Linked DNA regions of Homo sapiens: regions 1, 2, 3, 5, 6 and 7 are each linked to region 4. Evidence: promoter capture Hi-C in 16 types of primary human blood cells and fetal thymus (Javierre and others, 2016). All regions are on one chromosome and are shown on one strand. Each heading gives the region's core, a stretch centred on a gene start or on the middle of the fragment in contact. The rest is flanking DNA. Distances are from core to core; before and after follow the strand shown.

Region 1 (2,980 bases), core at 119-2,618, 610 kb before region 4:
CTCCTGCCCTGCAGAGTTGCTGTGACAGTGATGACGTGTGGAGCACCAGCATGGTCTGCCAGCGTGTGGGGCCAGGACAGAACACTTCCCCATTGCTGCTCCCTTGGTGTTTGGGTTCCTGGTCCAGGGCACCTTCCTCCTCCCCCAGCCTGGACCAAGCCCACTCCTGTGTGTGCTTTCAAGTGGACAGGAGGCCCAGGGCAGGGAGGGCAGCCCACGCTTACTTTAAGAATTTCTGACCTCCAGAGACAAGGATGCCAGGACCTCCACTGGGGGCCACCATGGCAAACTTTCCCGCTTTCAGGACACCCCACATGGCCCCCGGGATCTGGCTTTGGGAAGGAAGATGGTGCCTGGATTGCGAAGGCCTTTCAATCTCATGCCCTGCGTCATGGGGTAAATTGTGTCTCCCTCAAATTCATACGCCAAAGTTCTCACCCCCAGGACCTCAGAATATGGCTGTATTTGGAGACAGAATCTTTTTATTTTTATTTTTATTTTTATTTTATTTTATTTTATTTTTTGGAGACAGGGTCTCACCCTGTCACCCAGGCTGGAGTGCAATGGCCCTATCAGGACTCACTGTAGCCTCCACCTCCTGGGCTCAAGCAATGCTCCTGCCTCAGCCTCCTAAGTAGCTGGGACCACAGGCATGCACCACCATGCCTGGCTAATTTTTAAAAATTCTTTTGTAGAGATGGGGTCTTACTATGTTGCCCAGGCTGGTTTTGAACTCCTGCCCTCAAGCAATCCTCCTGCCTCAGTCTCCCAAAGTGCTGGGATTACAGGCACGAGCCACGGTGTCTGGCCAGAGACACGGTCTTTAAAGAGATAATGGAGGGAAAATGAGGTCACTAGGGTGGGCTCTGATCCAATCTGACTGGAGTCCTTCTAAGAAGAGGAGATTAGGACACAGATGCTCACGGAAGGACAATCACGTGAGGACATGGGGAGAAGATGCTGTCTGGAAGCTGAGGAGGAGGCCTCAGGGGATCCAGCCCCACCCACACCTTGATGTTGGACTTCCAGCCTCCAGGATCGTGGGAAATAAACGTCTGTTGTTTCAGCCACCTGGTCTGTGAGAGTTTGTTATGGCGGCCCAAGCAAACTGACCCACCGAGGAATTTCGCTTTTGATCTTATGGGTGGTGGGGTCAGTGGGGGCTTTGAAGCCTTGGTCCCACACAGGGCTGGGGGCTCCTCGGCTGCAGGGTGGAGGGGGCACTCCACGGGGAGAGGCACAGGCTGGGAGACCAGTGTGTAGGAGTGTGTCTGTGTAGGGGTGTGTGTTTGTATGTAGGGATGTGTGTATGTAGGGGTGTGTGTGTGCGCCTGTGTAGATGTGTGTGTGTAGGGGTGTGTGTGTCTGTGTAGGTGTGTATGTAGGTGTGTGTGTATGTAGGGGTGTGTATGTAGGGTGTGTGTGTGTGCCTGTGTAGATGTATGTGTGTGTAGGGGTGTGTGTGTGTGTGTCTGTGTAGGTGTATATAGGTGTGTGTGTGTATGTAGGGGTGTGTGTGCCTCTGCAGGTGTGTGTGTGCCTGTGTGTGTGTGTATGTAGGGGGTATGTGTGTAGGGGTGTGTGTGTATGTAGGGGGTGTGTGTATGTAGGGGTGTGTGTAGGGGTGTGTGTATGTAGGGGTGTATGTGTGTAGGTGTGTGCGTGTAGGGGTGTGTGTACATGTAGGTGTGCATAGGTGTGCGTAGGTGTGTGTAGGTGTGTGTAGGGGTATGTGTGTGTAGGGTTGTGTATGTAGGGGGTGTAGGTGTGAGTGTATGTAGGGGGTGTGTGTTATGAGGGGTGTGTGTGTGTAGGTGTGTGTGTAGGTGTGTGGAGGGGTGTGTGTAGGTGTGTAGGGTGTGTGTACATGTAGGTGTGCATAGGTGTGCGTAGGTGTGTGTAGGTGTATGTGTGTATGTGTGTATAGGGTTGTGTGTGTATGTAGGGGGTGTAGGTGTGTGTGTATGTAGGGGTGTGTGTTATGTAGGGGTGTGTGTAGGTGTGTGTATAGGGGTGTGTGTAGGTGTGTGTATGTGGGGGGGTGTGTTATGTAGTGTGTGTAGGTGTGTGTAGGGGTGTGTGTAGGTGTATGTGTGTGTATGTGTGTGTGTAGGTGTGTGTGTATGTAGGGGTGTGTGTAGGGGTGTGTAGGGGTGTGTAGGGGTGTGTGTAGCTGTATGTGTGTGTAGGGGTGTGTGTAGGTGTGTGTGTATGTAGGGGTGTGTGTTATGTAGGGGTGTGTGGCGGTGTGTGTATAGGGGTGTGTAGGTGTGTGTAGGGGTGTGTGTAGGTGTGTGTAGGTGTGTGTGTATAGGGGTGTGTAGGTGTGTGTAGGGGTTGTGTGTAGGTGTATGTGTGTCGGGGTGTGTGTAGGTGTGTGTAGGTGTGTGTGTGTAGGGTGTATGTACATGTAGGTGTGTGTGTGAGTGTGGGTGGCGCGAGGGTTCTCCAGCCCCAAGTGCGTTGGTAAGAACGCGAGGAGGGGAGAAGGACAGCTGGAACCGTCTGAGCGGCGGGGGAGCCGGTGTGTGAAGCCGGCACCACGTTAGCGGAACCGAGTTATTGAAGGGCCCCACCTGGGTGGAGCCGTGAGTGTGAGCAGCTTCCGCTTCCCCCGGAAGCTGGCGTCGTGCAGGAACCCTCACCCGCCCGAGCGGGGCCCTGGGCCTCCGGGTCACTCTCTGTGGCGGGGTCTGGCTGCGCGTCAGACGGCCTCCTCCAATGCCCGCAGTTGCTGTCGCCCCCAGGCCTGGACCGGGGAGTGAGGGGTGGGCCTGACCGGCCCCTGAGCTCCCGTCAGCCCCCCACGCGAGCCCGTCCTGTGCTGGGGGCAGGGAGATGGGCCGGTGGGAGAGGAGACCGCATCCAGCCCTCCCTGGCCACCTGCAGGGTCCCCACCGTGGCGGCTGCTTTACTGCTAACTCCTCCCGGGGACCCCAAGTCCCCATCGCTCTCGGGGGTCCCCCTCATCCGAACCGCC
Region 2 (2,997 bases), core at 291-2,790, 600 kb before region 4:
GTGGGCAAAATCTGGCAATGGTTTAAGAAAAGCTTTAAGTTTGACAAAGTGCTCTCTTACTTACAAATTTAGTTTATTTATTGTTATTTTATTTTGGTTCACAAAGCAAATGGGTATTAGTTTTTATTGCTGCACAACAAATTACTCAGATTACCTCAAAATCTAGCAAATTAAAATAACATGTATCATCTCCCATAATTTCTGGGGTAAATAATTAGGTAGTGGCTTAGCTGGGTGGTTCTGGCCCAAGGACTCTTATGAGGTTGCAGTCAGGAGCAGCTAGACAAGGCTGCATTTATCTGAAGGCTTGACTGGGGCAGGAGGCTCCCTTCCAAGATGGCACCTGCACAGGGCTGTTGGCTGGAGGCCTCAGCTCTTCACCCTGTGGCCCTCTCCATAGGCTGCTTAGGTTTCCTTGTGCCCTGATGACTGGTTTTCCCAGTGTGAGAAATCCGTAGAGCAAGAAAGAAGTGCATTGTTTTTGTGGCCTAGTCTCAGAAGCCACACACTGTTTCTCCCAGGATATCCTATTATTGCATAGGTCTGCCCTATTCAAAATGGGAAGAGACTATACAAGGGCATAAACACCAGGAGGGGAGGATCCATCATTGGAGGCCCTCTTAGAGGCTGGCTGTCCGAGTTTATGAAATGTTTTCTGGATTTTGAAGTACTTTGGAGTTTGCACAGAACTTTATTATCTTACAACTGATTTTTTACATGAATTATCTCACTAACCCCTGAGATATTCCCTTATTTCCTTTGAAGGGACTGGGATGGGGCTTTGCGAGTCATCGTGCCTTTTGTTGTGCCTTTACCTGGGTTTCCAGACTTTGTGGGGCCCAGGAAGTCACCCTGGAGGTGAGGCCCAGCTCCAGGCCCCAGAGATGAGGCCAGAGTGAAGAACGAAAGGGTCCGTGAGTCGGCCCTGGGTCAGAGAGAAGCAGAGCAGGCCAAGGGCCTGAAAACACAGCAGAGTTCATATGGAGGGTTGGGCCCAGGCTGAGGCATCCACCTGGGAGGCCAGGTCTCTGTGTGTCCCCTCAGAGTGTTTGTTTGCCAGACTCACGGTCACTAAGGTTTTCTCCATGAAAATGCAAGCTACGGCTGGGCACGGTGGCTCATGCCTGTAATCCCAGCACTTTGGGAGGCCGGGGCGGGTGGATCATGAGGTCAGGAGATCGAGACCATCCTGGCTAACACGGTGAAACCCCATCTCTACTAAAAATACGAAAAATTAGCTGGGCGTGGTGGCGGGCACCTGTAGTCCCAGCTACTCGGGAGGCTGAGGCAGGAGAATGGCGCGAACCCGGGAGGTAGAGCTTGCAGTGAGCCGAGATCATGCCACTGCACTCCAGTCTGGGTGACAGAGTGAGACTCTGTCTAAAAAAAAAAAAAAAAAAAAAGAAAAAGAAAATGCAAGCTACAGACTGGGAGAAAATATTTGAAAACATTTACCTGACAAAGGACTTGTATTTAAAATACAAGGATGTTTTAAACTTAATAATGAGAGACTAACAACCAATTTTTAAAATGGGTTAAAGAGGGCCAGGCAAGGTGGCTCATGCCTAATTCCAGCACTTTAGGAGGCTGAGGTGGGAGGATCACTTGAGCCCAGGAGATTGAGACCAGCCTGGCCAACATAGTGAGACCCTATCTCTACAAAAAATTAGCTGGGCATGGTGGCATGTGCCTATAGTCCCAGCTGCTTAGGAGGCTGAGGCAGGAGGATTGCTTGAGCCCAGGGGTTCCAGACTGCAGTGAGCTGTGATTGCACCACTGTGCTCCAGCTTGGGTCACAGAGGATGACCCTGTCTCAAAAAAATAAAATAAAATAAAATGGAGCCAAATATTTAAACAGACACTTCTGTAAAGAAGATACACAGGTTTTCAAATAAGTCAGTTTAAGTGGGGAAAAAAAGACATGCAAGCACATGAAAAGACTGAACATTATTAATCATTCAGGAATGAAAAATAAAACCACAATGAGATACCACTTCACACCTACTAGAGTGGCTGAAATGAAGAAGACTGACCTCAGCAAGTGTTGATGAGGACATGGAGCACCTGGAACTCTATGCTGAGTGCTGATGCTGAGAATGCAAGATGGTGCGGCCACGCTGGGGAAGTTTGGCAATTATTAGAGAGTTAAATGTGCACCTACCATAAGAAGCAGCCACTCCACTCCCAGGCACTCACCCAAGAGAGATGAAATCATCTGTTCACACAGAGACAGATATAAGCATACCTGGCAGCTCTATTTGCATATGGCTAGAACACAGTACCCACTTCTCTGGAGTGTTGGGAGGATTTATTAATTAATTTTTTGAATTTGAAAATAGAAGGTCAGGCATGGTGACTCACACCTGTAATCCCAGCACTTTGGGAGGCCAAGGTGGGTGGATCACTTGAGCCCAGAAGTTTGAGACCAGCCTAGGAAAATAACATGGTGAAACCCCATCTTTATAAAAAAATACAAAAATTTGGTGCTGAGTGAGGTTGTGCACATGTGTAGTCCCAGCTCTTGGGTGGCTGAGGCAGGAGGATCGCTTGAACTCAGGAGGCGGAGGTTGCAGTGAGCCGACGTCACGCCACTGCCCTCCAGTCTGGGCAACAGAGCAAGACCCTGTCTAAAATGCCCAGGCTGGTCTCGAACTCCTGGGCTCAAGCAATCCTCCCGCCTCAGACCCCCAAAGTGCTGGGACTACAAGCATAAGCCCCCATGCCCAGCTGGGAGGATAAATTTAGTTGGTGGATGTCAATTCTGTGGCACAGCATGGCAGGCAGGAAGGACTAAGTAACTGCGCCATTATTTTTATGCCTTCCTGTGTTGCTTTCATCCCACTCAACGGATTCAGCTTGCAGATGGGGAAACTGAGGCCAAGAGAGAGGCAGGGTATTTGCAGGATTTGGTCACCAGGTCAGAGTCCAAGCTGGACCCAGCAGGCAGGCCCTGGCCTGTGGACAGCATGTTCCCATTCCTTCCTCCACACTAGCAGA
Region 3 (3,014 bases), core at 319-2,818, 740 kb before region 4:
GCGCTCCTGCAGGTGCAGCACGGGGTCTGTATCCAGAAGGGACACCCGGGAGCCCCACTCCACACCCACGTGGGCGCGGCACGGGGTCTGTATCCAGAAGGGACACCCGGGAGCCCCACTCCACACCCACGTGGGCGCGGCACGGGGTCTGTATCCAGAAGGGACACCCGGGAGCCCCACTCCACACCCACGTGGGCGCGGCACGGGGTCTGTATCCAGAAGGGACACCCGGGAGCCCCACTCCACAAACACGTGGGTGCAGCACGCACACACTTGCACATGCGCACACATACACACACACAAGCAGGGATCCAGAGAGAGAGCCCAGGACCAGTTGGGAGAGGGGCCTGACAGGAGGGGCACCAGGGCCGGTGGCCCACAAGGTCCTAGTCTGGCCACAGGAGGGAGGTTCAGTCAACAGAGATCCACAAAGCCCCGTCCGCAAAACAGGCCACCCCGGCAGGCTGGCTGCGAGTTGGCTGCAGGGACCTGGCATCTCTGTGATCCACCCTCACTGTGCCTTCCAGCGCCAGCTCCCTCCACAGCCCTCGAAAAGTCTCCAACCCAGCCAGGCAGCCCGCAGCCCCACCCTGCCTCCCTGCTCCCGTGCTCCCCTTGCTGCCGGCAGCAATTCATCCCATCCAGCCTAGGGGTTGCCAGTTCCCCTGTGCTTGGTCAGCCCCTCATAGGTCCTCACACAGGACAGAGCCTATGCTACCCTCTGGGACGCGTCACCGCAAACAGCCTCACTCATCCCCGTACCCACGCTCAGCCAGAGCATCCGAAGGGGTGGAGTGTGCATGGGACCCAGGACGAGGGGGATGGCGGCGCGTGGAACCCGCAGTGAGGGAAAGGCGCCCCAGCGGCGAGGGCTGGCACCTTGAACTCCATCTCCAGGTACTGCGGCTCCTTGCGCTCCTGCATGAGCCCCAGGCAGAAGGCCTGGAAGTTGATCTCGTGCTTGGTCTGCTTGATGATCTCCCGCAGCAGGGCCCGCGAGGCCCGCAGGTAGTCGTCCTTGTTGGTCAGCAGGTCCTGGAACACCATGGCCAGGAACTGGGGCAGAGAGAGGCCGCGTGGGAGGCTGCCCGACAGTGCTGTCCCTGTCACAGGCCCCTTCCCGCAGCACCAACAGGTATGGCGCCCGAGGGCGCTGCAGTGGGTCTCAGACAGTGTGGGGTGCGGGGTGGCGGGCTCCTTGCTCTACTGGCTGCCAGCCCTTGGCGAGCAGGGATCACATCTGATTCCCCTCTCTGAGAACCGGCAGGTGGGGAGTCGGTCCTCGTGAAATGAGGAGGATTAATTAACGGAAGCTGGGGGTGCGGGACACCAGGCGGCAAAGCCATAGAAGCGCGTGTGCCATCTCAGCCCACCCGTGCGCCACGGGCTGAACGGAAACCAAAGGCCACCACCCAAGATCTGAAAGGATCTGAAAGGACGCACTCCTGTCTCAAAATGCCAGGCCGCGAAGACTGAACGCGGAGCTGAGAGCGGCTGTGCCTCCCTCGTGTTTCACACTCCATAGAGCCCACCGGGAGGCCTAATGCGCTGGTGGCGATGGGAGCATCTCCCGAGCCCGCTTCAAAGGAGACACGGAAATCCAAGGGTCCTACAGCCAGGGCTACAGGGACCCCTGCTTAACCGAGGGACCCAATGCACAGGAGGCGGGTCTGGGCCAGGCACAGGGGCTCATGCCTGTCATCCCAGCACTTTGGGAGGTTGAGGCAGGAGGATCGCTTGAGCCCAGGAGTTTGAGACCAGCCTGGGCCACATAATAAGACCCGGTCTCCACAAAATTTTTAAAAACTACCTTACTATCCAAAGGCAGGAATGAGCTTGAAAAATAAAAACAGAAGGCAACAGGTCTGGGTCTTAGCTCAGAAACCTGGGTGGCTTTTAAGACTCAATGTGGCTCCCTCCTAAATGGACAGAGTGTCAGTTTCTGAGAAAGACGCTGGGCGCTGTGGCTGCACCCACTCTAGAAACGGCTCAACCTCATGCCCACGTGAGTTTCAAAAGCTCCTTCCCGAGACCGAGGAGCATTCTCCCACGAAGCACTGCCAATCCACCGGCCTCCCCAGACGCCACGTGCCCCTCCAGCCCAGAGCCCCATATTCCGGCGTGGAGGGCAAGGCCAGGGACCCTGGGCCTACCTTGGGCGCCAGCTCTGAGCTGTGCTGCAGTGCGGTATAGAGGACCTGCATGTTGTTCGGGTTCCGGGCGCTGGAGAGCTCATTGAAGATCACCAACTTGATGGTGGTGCCCAGGTTGTCCTTGTGCGCGCTCAGCAGCTCCCTGGGTGAGGTGAGGGTACAGACCCTGTCCCCGCTACGCCTGTGCCCCCACTCCGCCTGTGCCCCCACTCCGCCCGCACCCCCGCTCCGCCCACACCCCCACCCACACCCCCACTCCACCCGCACCCCCGCTCTGCCCCGGCTCGCCACGCACCTGATGCACAGCATGAAGTGGTTGAGGAGGACCTTGGGCTTGAGGCGGATCTTGATCAGGTGTGAGATGACGTCCATGTCTTCGGAACCGTGCGTGTTGCAGTTCATGCAGACGGACATCAGCAGGTCCTGGGCCGGCCGGGTCAGCTGCGGGGCCGAGGAGGGAGCAGTGGGCTCACGGCCACCCCGGCAGGAAGACCACGCTGTGGGGCCACACAGAGCCTGCCCCCACCCCCTGCCCCGCCCACCCCCCCGGGGCGCCCCCGCACCTTGGGGTTCTGCAGCCACATCTCCAGCTTCTGCACCGCCAGCAGCCGCACCTCCTTATAGCCGCAGGTGGAGGTGAGGAGCCGCAGGAGGTTCCTGGAGACGTTGTCGATGGGCTGGCGCCGGTTCAGCTGGTCCCGCAGCATGTCCAGGACATACTCCTCCACGCTCTCCGCGAGCTCTTCGTACCTAGGCCAGAGGAGGGAGCGAGGAGGGAGGAAGGTGGCCCCGAGGCGCCCGCCCCCGCCGCCCCCAACTGGGACCGGGCAGGCACGCAGCTACCTGGGCATGAGCTGGCCC
Region 4 (3,054 bases), core at 128-2,627:
CTGCATTCCAGCCTGGGTGCCAGAGCAAGACTCCGTTTCAAAAAATAATAATAATTAATTAAAAAAAAAATCTGGCCTCTGGGAATCAGAAACGAGGCATGCAACAGTGACAGTAAAGATGATGATCATCACAGCTGTGCTCATTTTCATTGTTTATTTCTAGTGACATTAATAAGTACTACTACTATTTTCAACTAGGTATCAGAAAGAAAGGTATCTGACATTTCCGAGCACCGAGACTTCTTGAACTTCAGTTTCCTCATCTGTAAACTCATGACAGTGAAATCTACTTGCAAAGTTGTGGGGAACGGGGCCAATATCCCTCAAGTCTTCCACCGCTAGATGATGGGAATACGGCTGCAGGTTGACCAGCACTATATTTGTAAGCTCAGTCTCAACAGGGTGGTGAATTAGGTCTTTTTACACAGATTCTAGAGATGATGAAACCGAAGCTTCAAAAAGTTACAGAACGGAGATTGGAACTTGGGTCTGTCTGGCTTTGGAAGGCTGAAGACAAACCGCAGTAAAGAACTTTGCACCCCCAACACCGGCGCTTACTATGGGCTCATGGCAGGCCGGCCCACCAGCCACAACTAGGGAACAGCCAAGCGCGTTTAAAAGCCAAAGGTAGAACTTCTGCAGCTGCACAGTTTCTGAGTTTCCATTTAACAAGAACCTTGGCCTGGTGCAAGCAGAGGCCTGAGCTCCCCAGGCTGCCAGCCCCGCAGAGGCAGGCCCGCCTGGAAGGAGGCTCCACAGCCCAATTCCTCCATTGCCCAAACGAGATCAGGGTGGCCCTTGCCATCCCCGAGGGGAAACCGGGCCCACACGCCCCCTTCCTGAGAGCGGACCGGCGCGAGCCACCAGGATGCCAAGAGCCCCTGCAGCCCCGACTTCTCCACCAGGCGCCAGCTCAGGCCCCTTCCTCGGCGCGCCGGCACCCTAGCCCGGGGACCCACACGGTAGGCAGCGGGACCCCGGGGCTGGGACCACGAGCACGCGCCCCTCGGCCGCCCGCCCTGGCACAAGGGACGGCTGCGGAGACCCAGGCGAGGGGCCCGCTGTCCCCAGCACAGCCCAAAGGGGGAGTGGGGACAGGGGAGTGGGGAGAGGAGGGGAGAGCACAGAGAGGAGAGCGCGCCCATGGGAGACGGGGCGGGCGCGGGGTCCTGAGGCACGGGGTCTGGGTCGTTGTGCCCCACCCTGGCGAGCACACCCGGTCCGGGCCCTCGGCCCCTCCCTTGCCATTCCCGGGACCCCCGGGACCCCGGGACCCCGCCGCCCGCGCGAGCCGGGCCGCTTACCTCAGCCGCTCGCAGCCAGCTTGCCGCCGCCGCTCGGATCTCCCTCCGCTCCGCCGGCGCCCATTTATCGCGACACTTGCGCCTGCGCTCTCGCGAGACCTGCGTGGCAATCGGGCCGTAAAGAACCGAGTCTGCGCACCGGCTGATCCTGGGGACTCCGCGTCCGCACCCGGAGCCGCCACCCCTGGGAGACTCCGCACGGAAAGGACTCGGAACCGAAGGCTGAGCCAAGGCGCAGTCGGGGGCCCCCCGGCTTTGCGCAGGACGCGCTTCCACTAAGGCTTTCGCCTCGCGCCGTAATGTGTGGAATAGCCGCGCCCACGGCAGCCTCCTCGGACAAACTTGCACCGTTGACTCTTCCCAAAATTTTGCTACTCAGTATCAGCTTGAATCAATCCGTTATTTTGCTTTTTTCTGGGCCCACTAGAAATGCAATTTATGCTACTAGGCTACCTTCCCAGTGCTCTGCAAGCCAGGGCACAGCATCCAATGGGGTGAGGTCAGGCCCCACCATTATTATGGTAACCTTTGTCTATCCTTCAAATTGGAGCCTTCCTGAGAAGAGTGTGCCTTACTCGTTTCCATATTCTCTTCCTCTCCTCCTCCCGTCTCTGCCCAGCCCCTGGCTTCCCTCTAAGAAGATGCTGTTCCTAAGGGTCTGCAATGAATTTTCCTTCTTTCAGAGAAAGACTTCCAAGTTGTGTGCCCCGGGAATGAAATGGAATAAGAGAACGAGGTGGAGTAGGGCAAGAGTCCCTGGACTTAACAACCTGACTGCAACCAGAAATAAAATGAAAAGTCAAAACATCTGGCGGCCGGGCGCGGTGGCTCACGCCTGTAATCCCAGCACTTTGGGAGGCCGAGGCAGGCGGATCACGAGGTCAGGAGATCGAGACCATCCTGGCTAACACGGTGAAACCCCGTCTCTACTGAAAATACAAAAAAAAAAAAAAAAAATAGCCGGGCGTGGTGATGGGCGCCTGTAGTCCCAGCTACTCGGGAGGCTGAGGCCGAATGGCGTGAACCCGGGAAGTGGAGCTTACAGTGAGCCAAGATCACTTCACTGCACTCCAGCCTGGGTGACAGAGTGAGATTCTGTTTCTCAAAGAAAAAAAAAAATCAAAACATCTGACCCGCAGTTTCCTTCGGGGAGCTGGACAGAGCCCCAGATTCCTGATGGAGATTCCTGGGTTTCCAGACTTCCCCCACTGGTCCTTGGAATTTAATCATAGTCAACAAACTCTTCTTGAGGGATGAGTACACCTCCAGGAAATGGCTTTGAGGAAGCCAGTTTAAAAAAAACAAAACTTCAAAGCATGAAAGTACCTTAAAATAATGCAATCTCTATTATTTTATTAAATATAAAGCTGCGTCAAGTTCCTAGATGAGTAAAAGAAAATAAACACACCACATCACTGCTTGCTTTGGCAATTACATTTATGTTCTTGGGAGCCCAGACACTGATATAAATTTCCAGCAAAAACCAAAGCAGACCCACTGCCTGGATAAATTCAGACCATACGTCTTCCCTAATTGTTCCGGGAACTTTTGCTGCTTGAAGAATGCGTGAATTGCTATATTGTTCACCAGAAAGACAGAAGTTAATCCCCAGATGGAAATTTCAGATTTTTCTTTTGGTTTGCTTTTTGGTTTTTCATTTTTGTAGACATGGGGGGTGTTGCTATGTTGCCCAGGTTGGTCTTGAACTCCTGACTTCAAGCAATCCCCCAGCCTCAGCCTTCTAAAGCCC
Region 5 (2,851 bases), core at 47-2,546, 640 kb before region 4:
ATCCATCCATCCATGCATCTATCCATCCATCCATTTATCCATCCACCCTCCCATCCATCCACCCTCCCATCCATCCACCCTCCCATCCATCCATGCATCCATCCATGCATCCATCCATCCATCCATCCATCCATCCATCCTTCCATCCTTCCACCCTGCCATCCATTCGCCCTCCCATTCATCCATCCATTCTCCCATCCATCCACTCTTCCATCCATCCATCCATCCATCCTCCCTACATCCACCCTCCCATCCATCCATGCATCCATCCATCCATCCATCCATCCATCCTCCTATCTATCCACCCTCCCTTCTATCCATCCATCCTCCCATCCATCCATCCATTCTCCCATCCATCCACCCTCCCACCCATCCATCCTCCCATCCATCCATCCATTCTCCCATCCATCCACCCTCCCACCCATCCATCCTCCCATCGATCCATCTATCCATCTTGCCATCCATCCACCCTCCCGTCCATCCATCTATCCATCCTCCCGTCCGTCCATCCATCCATCCATCCATCCATCCATCCATCCTCCCATCCATCCACCCTCCCGTTCATCCATCTATCCATCCTCCCATCCATCCTTCCATCCATCCTCCTGTCCATCCCTCCATCCATCCTCCTATCCATCCACTTTCCCATCCATCCATCTATCCATCCTCCTATCCATCCACCTTCCCGTCCATCCATCTATCCATCCTCCCATCCATCCACCCTCCCATCCATCTATCTATTCATCCTCCCATCCATCCCTCCCATCCACTCATGCATTCATCCATCCATGCATCCATGCATCCATCCATCCATCCATCCATTTATCCTCCCGTCTATCCACCCTCCCTTCTATCCATCCATCCTCCTATCCATCCATCCATCCACCCATCCCTTCTCCCACCCATCCACCCTCCCATCCATCCGTCTATCCATCCTCCCATCCATTCACCCTCACATCCATCCTCCCTCCATCCATCCTCCCAGCCATCCACCCTCCCACTCATCCAAGCAGTCCTTGCTTGTCTAGGACTGTAGGAGCTCTGTCAGCTCTGGAGATACGGCAGTGAACAGGACTAGAAAGGCCACTGCCTCCACGGAGCTCCCTGTTTAGTAGAAGAGAAAGAAAACAAGAAACGAACATGCCTGTATTTCTGTGTACATGAATGCTGAGAATCTGGAGAGACCAGCTGGGATGAATTGGAATCCGGGGGCCTGGGTGGTTTCTGATGAAGAGATGTTTGGGCTGGGGCTGCAGCAGGGGCCAAGCTGGCCATGGGATGGAGAAGAGGCCAGTCCTGCCCATGTCAAGTCTGGAGAGGGTGGGGCAGGGGCGAGGGTGAGATAGGGACCTGAACGTTCATTCTGGAGCTGTTTCACAAGCACCTCCAGTGCACCAGAGTCCTGGGACTGGCTGTGGCACGGGCATGGGGTGGGGTGGGATCGTGAGCACCCCTCACCTCACGATCCCCTCGTCCCTTCCCTCACCCGCCGCTGCCCACACCCCCGGCTCCTTCCAGGATAGAGCCCGGAAAACAAGTCGGGGGAGGGAGGGTGCAGAGATCAAGATAAACCCCTCTCCCCAAATCATATTCCAATTCCTCAATTTCACCTCCTCACTCAACAGGGAGCCATCTCTCTAGTTTTCCAGGCCAACCCTTAGGAGCTGGGGATTTATTTGTGCATTTTTAACCCATTGTACAGATTCTGACTCCATTAGCGAAGCCACACCTTGGGGGCCACAGTGCCTTTCGTCTGCAAAGGGGCCCTGCAAAGACCGGTCAGGAAAAATTAATTAAACATTTTAACCTCTCAATGCCTCATGGCTGCGACATTCCCCTCCCGTGTCAGCCAAGAGAGAAACAGCCGTGTTTATCTACAAGCTCCTGGAGGAGCAGAGGCCACTCAGCCCCTGATACAATCTTGGGTGCCGTGTGCGTGGGGACAGTTTACAGCCCCGCATGACAGAAATCAGATATTTAGGGAGATGGAGTGATGGCCTGGCGTTAGTGGGGTCCGACGTGTTCCAGGCTCCGTGCCCTATCCCCAGGGCTCTAATGGCTGTGTGTGGGTGGGGGTGTACTCCACCTATGAGGCGCTGGGAGTCAAATGCATTTATCAGCTTCCTGGAGATTTAAAACCCAATAGCCTCTCTCCTGCCATTGCAGAGAATGGCAACAGTGTACGCAGGCGAAACACGTGGTTCCCAGGGTCCACGCTGCTTTTTCTTCCCCCAGGCCTGCAAATTATTCTCCCCGTGGTCTTTCTGCTTGAGTCACTGACTCTATGCTCGTTTACCAACCAGGTACCCTGTGCCAGGTGCCGTGTCCACGCTGGGTCACCTCGGGGGCCAAGACAGCTGATGGCCGCATCCGGGGGTGTGGACAGATGGGAAGAGGAGCGCACCAGTCAATGCGTGAGCCCATTTCCGGCAATCAGCGCCACGACGGTACCAACGTGGAGGGGCGCAATCGTGCCTGGGCGGGTGGTTCGAGGAGGAGCATCTGAGGAGGTGATGTTTCGGTTGAGGCTTGAGTGCCGAGCAGAAGGCAGGCAGGTGGAGGTCGAGGGAAAAGCATTCTGGGCGGAGGGAACAGTGTATGTAAAGGCTCGGAGGCAGAAAAGGACTCAAATGTTTTAGGGACTGAAAGAGAGGCAGCTTCCTTCAACTGCCAACTGCCATGATGAGTTATTGCAAACTGTGGGACTTAAAACCACAGAAAGTTACCATCCCACAGGTCAGGAGGGAACCAAGGAGTCGGAGTCAGCAGGGCTGGTTCCTTCTTGAGGGTCCTGGCAGCGGAGAATTTATTCCAGGCCCTTCTCCTGCTTCTGGCAGCTGCCAACAGCTCA
Region 6 (3,130 bases), core at 300-2,799, 700 kb before region 4:
ACTCCATCTCAGAAATAAATAAATACAAATTAAAAAATTAAAGAGATAATAAAAGTGTGTGATTAGTAACAAAAGCCTGCTATGGAAAGAATGCATTTGGGTTAGAGGAGCGACACCATGAGTAACGTAAAGAGTCCCGCGGAGATGGCCACAGCTTCTCTGGAGGCTCCCAGCGCATCCCAGGACCCCGAGTGCAGAGTGTGGGCCAGGACAAGGGAAGCACCTTTCCCATCCCCGGGGGATGTCTTTCTGCAAACATCCTGGGGACGTGGGACATTGTCGCTACTGCTGCTGTTGAGTTATTTCTTGGCACCTGTTTCTGCGGCCAGGTTGCAGGCATCACTGTGGCTAGCTGCCCCAGACGGCCGTGTGGGCCTTAGCAAGGAGGGGCCTCCCAGGTGGCCAGTGCAGAACCCGCAAGTGGGGGGGAGAGATGGCCCGGGAGGCTGCCCCCGCGCTCCACAGCAAGAGGCCACTGGGCTGCTGCCTAAATCCCCAGCCACATGGTGGTAAGGACGACACCCAGAAGATGCACAGACCTCCCTGCACTGGCTCCTGAGTCCCACCTGAGCCGAGAAAACAGGCTCCCGGGTCCCACCTGAGCTGAGAAAACAGGCTTCCCAGAACCCCGGGCAGATGCCATGGGTGTCCTGGGGGGCCCTCGGTTGCCCAGGCCTGAAACTCCTCTTCCTGCAGCGCTCAGAGGGGGGCGGGACTTGGGGACCCAGAAGCGTGGCAAGGGGCTCCAGACGGATCCCCTCTCCAGCCTGTCCTCCACCTGTGACAGGAAGCAGAGGCAGCTCCCTCAGGGGCCCGCCCCCACCTGAGGATCCCTCACAGGACTCCTTGGGCCAGTGGTGCCCTAACCCCATCCTGGGCCTGCTGTGTCCCCTGGCAACCACCAGCTGGGGCTTTAGAAGGGGGCTGGCCCCACCCACAGAGGCTGTGATCACTAGCCGCTTATCCCCATTTTTACATTGCTGGTTTGCTTGTTTTGTTTTTTTGAGACAGGGTCTCACCTTGTCACCCAGGCTAGAGTGCAGTGATGAAATCATGGCAGCCTCCACCTTCCAGGTTCAAGCCATCCTCCTGCCTCAGCCTCCTGAATATCTGGGGCCGCAGGCACATACCACCACGCCCGACTAATTTTTGTAATTTTTTTGTAGAGATGGGGGTCTCACTGTGTTGTCCAGGCTGGTCTGGAACTCCTGGGCTCAAGCGATCCTCCTGCTTTGGCCTCCCAAAGTGCTGGGATTACAGGCATGAGCCACCGTTCCCAGCTGGCCTTAATGTTTTTTATGTTTATAGAGACAGAGAATGGGGGAAGGGAGGTTTCGCTATGTTGCCCAGGCTGGTCTTGAACTCCCGGCCTCCAGAGATCTTCCCGCAGGGCCTCCCAAAGCGCGGGGATTGCAGGTGCGCGCGGGGCCAGCGGCCCCCCGGGCGGGAGAGGAGGGCGTGGCCGGGGGGCGTGGCCGCGGGGCGGGGAGGGGGCGTGGCCCGGGGGGCAGGGCGGTGTGACGCGCGCGCCGCGGATCCCGGAAGCGGTGTCAGATGCTGGGGAGCCGGGCGGGCGGGTGCGGTGGCGGCGGGCGGCGCGGGGGCACTTGTTGTTCTTCGCGAAGTCGGAGCCCGAGCGCCAGGCGGCGGCGGCGGCCGAGGGGAGCGCGACAGTGAGCGCCGGCGCGAGGACAGCGCGTGCCCGCGAGGAGCCGCCGCGCGCCCGCGCCCTCCGCGCGACGCCAGGTGAGGGGCGGTGGGGCAGCGGGGCCCGGGCCGCGGCGGGGACGGGGACCGGGGCGCGGGGCCGGGGCTACCTGGCCGCTGAGTCACGGCCGCCTGGGGGCGCGGGCCGAGGGTGGCGGGGTTGGGTGCGCGGGGCCCGAGACCCTCATGCGGCCCGCGGCGCGGCCCGGGCACCTGCCCAGGTGGGCCCCGCCCCGCAGGCCCGGGGGCTTCCCCGGGACGCGAGGCTCTCTCCCCTGCACGTGCCGCCCGGGCCATGCTTGCCGCGCCGGGGGCCCCAGGGCGCGGACCCCAGACCTGGGAGGACGAGGATCCACGCGGGTCGGCGGCGCGCATCGGGCCCGCGCCTTCACACCTGCGGGGGGCGGGGCGGGGCGGGCGCCACGTGCGGGCGGTGCGGGGAGGGCGCGGGCGCGTGGATTCTCCGCGGCTTCCGCCCCAGCGTGGCTTCCGCGTGCGGCCCCGGACTGCCCCCCGCGCTTCCTCCCGGTGACGGGCGGCGCTCTGGCCCAGTGGCTGGGGTCACGCGTGCCCGGGAACGGGGTGGGGGTAACCGGGTCTCCCCACAGGCGGGATCCTGGGACTGGTGTCGCTCTCAGCCGCCCACCTGCCAGGGTTGCTGGAAGGAAGGCCGTGGGGAGGCGGGAGGGGGGCAGGTGACAGTGGCCCCAAGGCTCGTCCCTTTGCTCACGTGTGGGGCAGGGGCTCCGGCCTCTTCCCGCTCCCACTGCGTGAGTTCTTCTGTGCCTCTGTCAAGTTCAGGAAACTGTGTATGTGCCCGTGACTGTGTGTGTCTGCGTCTGCACAGCCTCTAGATCCTGGGGGGTGGGACCAGGCGCCACCGAGAAACCCAGAAAGCCAGGACCCCGCCTGGCCTTGGCCCTTGACCTGGGTCCGCCTGGGACACAGCAGTGGCCCTGCACTGCATTCTCGCGCTCACACCGTGTGTGTCCGTGTTCGCGGGGCCTCCCGTGTCCCTCTCCTGGTGTCCTGCGTCCCTGAGCATGCTGTTTTCTTGCTTCTTAAGTAGCTCTTGTAGCTGAGGCAGAAATTAGATCCACTCACCATTCATTCACCAGGTGACCCACAGGCAGCCAGCCAATCTCTGGCCAGGTGCCTGGCCTTGGGAAGATCCTGAGACTCAAAACGCCCCCCACCGCCCCCCATCGTGGTCTAGGGGATATCTGTGTGGTTCGGCTCTGGCAGCGCCCTTCCCACCCCTCTGATTCTCCAGGGTGGGCTGCCAGGTCTCTTTACTGGCACTGAGGTTTCACCGTCACGGTGTGTTGTTGTAAGGGGTTCTCCAACACAGAGTGGGGTGCCCTATGCAGCTTCTCCAAACCCAATGTCTTCAGGGACATGGAGCATTAAAAGAGCCGTGGGC
Region 7 (3,059 bases), core at 46-2,545, 680 kb before region 4:
CTTCCCCTTTCCAGCTATGTGAGCCTGGGAAAGACCTCTGGTCTCTCTGAGACTCAGTCTTCTTGTCTGTGAAATGGGACCACACTGCAGACCTCAGTGAGCCGAGTGACGAGCCTGTGAAATAGCCAGGGGTGCCCGGTGGGCGCTCTGCCCTCAGCCTGGCAGAGATCTCCCCATTTTCAGGCCCAGCTCCCACATGCCACATCCTGGGGAAGCTCATCCCCTCCCCCGTGCCCTGGCCGATCCCACTTCTGACAGCGTCTATAGCAGCGGCACCCAGGGGGACCGGGCTGAGCCACGGCCACGTCCTGTGGAGACCAAGGTCCTGAAGGAGGCTCGGGGGCGGAAGGGCTTACCTGGTGGCAGGTGAGCACCAGGGCAGTCCACACGAAGATCCCCGAGACGCCTCGGGCCAGTGCGGAGGTGAGGAAGAGCCAGGGGGCCCCCTGGGAGCTGTTCCCCATGTGGTCCATCTGCGGCCCAGCTGGCACAGCCGGTGGGGGGCTGGGCTGCGGCCAGTTCGCTGACACCAGGGGGACGCCGGCTGTCTCCAGGATCCCTGAGACATTACTCATCTGCAGAGGGAGGGAGGACACACACCGGGAGGAGTGAGGGCAAAGGTACTGGCTCCCGGCAGCAGGAAGCAGCGGGGGAGGGAGGAGACAGTGAGACGGGAGCTGAGGCTGAGCCACCCACCAGGCCGCACCCCCCACACGGACACCAGCGCCAGGCCCGGCTCCCTCCCTGCTCCGAGCTCAGCCATCGAAGCTCACCCATCAACCACCTGCGACCTGAGGGTCCCACCTCAATTCCCCCTTGTAAAACCAGCTTCCAACTCCGAGTCTCAGGCTTGCAGGGAGCCTGCTTCTTAGGGGACAAAGACCGTCTTCCAGTGGGGCAGAAGAGGGGGAACCCCTGCCGCCCTGCCTGCCCGGGAGGGCTGGGGAGCGGGCGCAGACCAGCACTGCCTGCCCCGGCAGGAGGGGGTGTGCAGCCACCCTCATGGGAGGAGCCGGCCCTCACTGGCTCTGGGACCTGTCCACCCACCTGGGAGCCCGGCTTTGCTGGGGTTCTTGGCAGCCCTGGGTGCCTGTTCCATCTCCCACTAACCTGCTGGGGCCCTGAGTCCACCCTCTCCCACACTCGCAGCCCAGTCCAGCCTCCTCCTCTCCCTCTGGTCTGCGGTCACAGGGCCCAGCTCTACCTTTGCTGGCAGGAAGCACCTGGCCCAGTCCAGGGAGGCCTGGCCTCCAGGGAAGCCTAGCTGGTCATTCTCATGGCCACGTGGCCCCAACTGGAGGCCCCACTGTGGGTGCGGCAAGGCCAGGATCTGAAGGGCTGTGCCAGGCTGGGGCGGGGCGGCCAGTGCCTCACGTCCCCAGTGGCCCACCTGGGCCCCAGGCTGCAGGCCCGTCCCCTCCTGTCCCCTCCCACGGCTGACACCCTATCCTCCCGGTTGTTTGCTGGGTGGCAGCTGGCTCCCAGGAACCTGCTGGCCGCCTGGCGCCCTCACCTGCCTATGCCAGACGGCCAGGCAGCTGCCACCTGGTGGGGACACGTGGGAGAGGTCTGCGGCAGGCCAAGGAGGGCCGGGCTGCAGGAGGAGGGGTGGAGAGCTAATGGTACAGGGTTTCTCTGGGGGGTGACAGGAGTCCTGAAATGAGGTAGAGGCGGCAGGCACACAGCACTGTGGATATACTTACCGCCACCGAATCGTTCACTTAAACCTGGGTAAATTGATGTTATGTGAATTTCATCTGAATTAAAAAAAAAATCCACGCCCCAAGAGATGAGTTGAAAACATTTGTTTTCTGGGCCGGGCGTGGTGGCTCACGCCTGTCATCCCCACACTTTGGGAGGCCAAGGTGGGTGGATCACTTGAGGTCAGGAGTTCGAGACCAGCCTGGCCAACATGGTGAAACGCCGTCTCTACGAAATACGCAAAAATTAGCTAGGTGTGGCAGCGTGCACCTGTAATTCCAGATACTCAAGAGGCTGAGACAGGAGAATCGCTTGAACTCAGAAGGCGGAGGTTGCAGTAAGCTGAGATCACACCACTGCACTCCAGCCTGGGGACAGAGGGAGACTCTGTGTCCAAAAAAAAAAAAAAAAAAAAAAGGAAATATTTCTGGTTTTTGTGGATCAAGGCAGGAGAGGGGGAGTGACAGCCCAGTCCCTGGACCCTTTGGGGTCTGGCAAGGGGTTGCGGGGCCCTGAGGGTCCCTGTCACCCCCATGCAGAGGCCCCTGTGGAGAAAAAACTCACTCACCCCGGCTCCTGGGAGAGGGATGTGGGCCCTCAGCCCACCTCTTGTCCTGTTCTGGTTACGCTTGGGCTCATGCCGCTGGGGCCACCATTACCAAGTCCCGCTCCATGCCCGCAACGGATCCACACACTCCTTGTCCTTCATATCTCCTACCCTCCCACAGCCCTGAGCAACAGGGCTCAAGGGGTTGAGGCTGGAATGACTGGAGCCACTGTTCCCCTTTTATTTTTAATTAATTTATTTTTTGAGACGGAGCCTCGCTCTGTCGCCAGGCTGGAGTACAATGGCGCGATCTCGGCTCACTGCAACCTCCGCCTCCTGGGTTCAAGTGATTCTCCTGCCTCAGCCTCCCGAGTAGCTGGGATTACAGGCGCCCACCACCACACCTAGCTAATTTTTGTATTTTTAGTAAAGACGGGGTTTCACCACGTTGGCCAGGCTGGGCTTGAACTCCTGACCTCAGGTGATCTGCCCGCCTCAGCCTCCCAAAGTGCTGGGATTACAGGTTTGAGCCACCACGTCCGGCCTGTTCCCCTTTTAGAGATGGGAACGAGAGGCGCATCAACGCGTCCAGCATCCTTGAGGGGTCCGTGAGGGGCCCGGGCTGAGGCCCATCCTTCCCTGGGACACCCTGCCTGCTTTTCCCAACTCCTCCACTGACACTGTCCCTCCAGGGAGGCTCCCAGGTGGGGAACAAGCTCAGGAAGTCGTGCCCAGCTCTCAGGCCCGCCTTGCCTAACCTCCCCATCAGCGCCCACCCGGGCCCGGGCCCAGAGCCACAGCATGCACACCC

Evidence for each region. Contacts are between HindIII fragments. The CHiCAGO score rates a contact against its expected background, and 5 or more counts as called.
Region 1: a contact is called between a fragment that was not itself captured here and the fragment with the promoter of MAD1L1 in region 4, in 2 of 17 cell types (M1 macrophages and M0 macrophages). The highest score is 7.3, in M1 macrophages.
Region 2: a fragment that was not itself captured here is called in contact with the fragment with the promoter of MAD1L1 in region 4 in 2 of 17 cell types (M2 macrophages and M1 macrophages); the score reaches 6.2 in M2 macrophages.
Region 3: a fragment that was not itself captured here is called in contact with the fragment with the promoter of MAD1L1 in region 4 in 1 of 17 cell types (M0 macrophages); the score reaches 5.0 in M0 macrophages.
Region 5: a fragment that was not itself captured here is called in contact with the fragment with the promoter of MAD1L1 in region 4 in 12 of 17 cell types (M1 macrophages, M0 macrophages, fetal thymus and 9 more); the score reaches 15.5 in M1 macrophages.
Region 6: the fragment with the promoter of MAFK here is called in contact with the fragment with the promoter of MAD1L1 in region 4 in 1 of 17 cell types (M2 macrophages); the score reaches 5.1 in M2 macrophages.
Region 7: a contact is called between the fragment with the promoter of TMEM184A here and the fragment with the promoter of MAD1L1 in region 4, in 2 of 17 cell types (erythroblasts and monocytes). The highest score is 6.4, in erythroblasts.

What each region holds. Positions count from the first base shown.
Region 1 is chr7:1,616,969-1,619,948 of GRCh38, forward strand. It overlaps LOC105375303 (a long non-coding RNA gene), which reads left to right and starts at 2,627. Exons shown (of 2, transcript NR_165252.1): 1 at 2,627-2,980. The HindIII fragment of the contact is 6,488 bases long and covers 1-2,980 here.
Region 2 is chr7:1,635,281-1,638,277 of GRCh38, forward strand. No RefSeq gene overlaps it. Among named protein-coding and RNA genes, the nearest start is that of ELFN1, 33 kb to the right of the region's middle. The HindIII fragment of the contact is 3,020 bases long and covers 31-2,997 here.
Region 3 is chr7:1,496,259-1,499,272 of GRCh38, forward strand. It overlaps INTS1 (integrator complex subunit 1), which reads right to left. Exons shown (of 48, transcript NM_001080453.3): 7 at 2,997-3,014; 8 at 2,717-2,903; 9 at 2,449-2,594; 10 at 2,154-2,295; 11 at 880-1,056; 12 at 1-6. Among named protein-coding and RNA genes, the nearest start is that of INTS1, 6.6 kb to the right of the region's middle. The HindIII fragment of the contact is 9,142 bases long and covers 1-3,014 here.
Region 4 is chr7:2,231,568-2,234,621 of GRCh38, forward strand. MAD1L1 (mitotic arrest deficient 1 like 1) reads right to left here and starts at 1,378. Exons shown (of 19, transcript NM_001013836.2): 1 at 1,305-1,378. It overlaps MRM2 (mitochondrial rRNA methyltransferase 2), which reads right to left. Exons shown (of 3, transcript NM_013393.3): 3 at 2,628-3,054. RefSeq lists silencers at 877-1,296, 1,274-1,652 and enhancers at 1,287-1,581, 1,367-1,496, 2,231-2,763. The HindIII fragment of the contact is 9,650 bases long and covers 451-3,054 here.
Region 5 is chr7:1,594,458-1,597,308 of GRCh38, forward strand. LOC105375123 (a long non-coding RNA gene) reads left to right here. Exons shown (of 8, transcript XR_001745048.2): 3 at 2,304-2,447. Among named protein-coding and RNA genes, the nearest start is that of PSMG3-AS1, 26 kb to the left of the region's middle. The HindIII fragment of the contact is 5,076 bases long and covers 1-2,851 here.
Region 6 is chr7:1,529,153-1,532,282 of GRCh38, forward strand. MAFK (MAF bZIP transcription factor K) reads left to right here and starts at 1,550. Exons shown (of 3, transcript NM_002360.4): 1 at 1,550-1,746. RefSeq lists silencers at 1,380-1,649, 2,140-2,269. The HindIII fragment of the contact is 17,285 bases long and covers 1-3,130 here.
Region 7 is chr7:1,554,910-1,557,968 of GRCh38, forward strand. TMEM184A (transmembrane protein 184A) reads right to left here and starts at 1,296. Exons shown (of 9, transcript NM_001097620.2): 1 at 1,205-1,296; 2 at 357-575. The coding sequence starts at 575. RefSeq lists silencers at 1-4, 1,372-1,441, 1,482-1,571 and enhancers at 114-914, 484-778, 915-1,714. The HindIII fragment of the contact is 30,451 bases long and covers 1-3,059 here.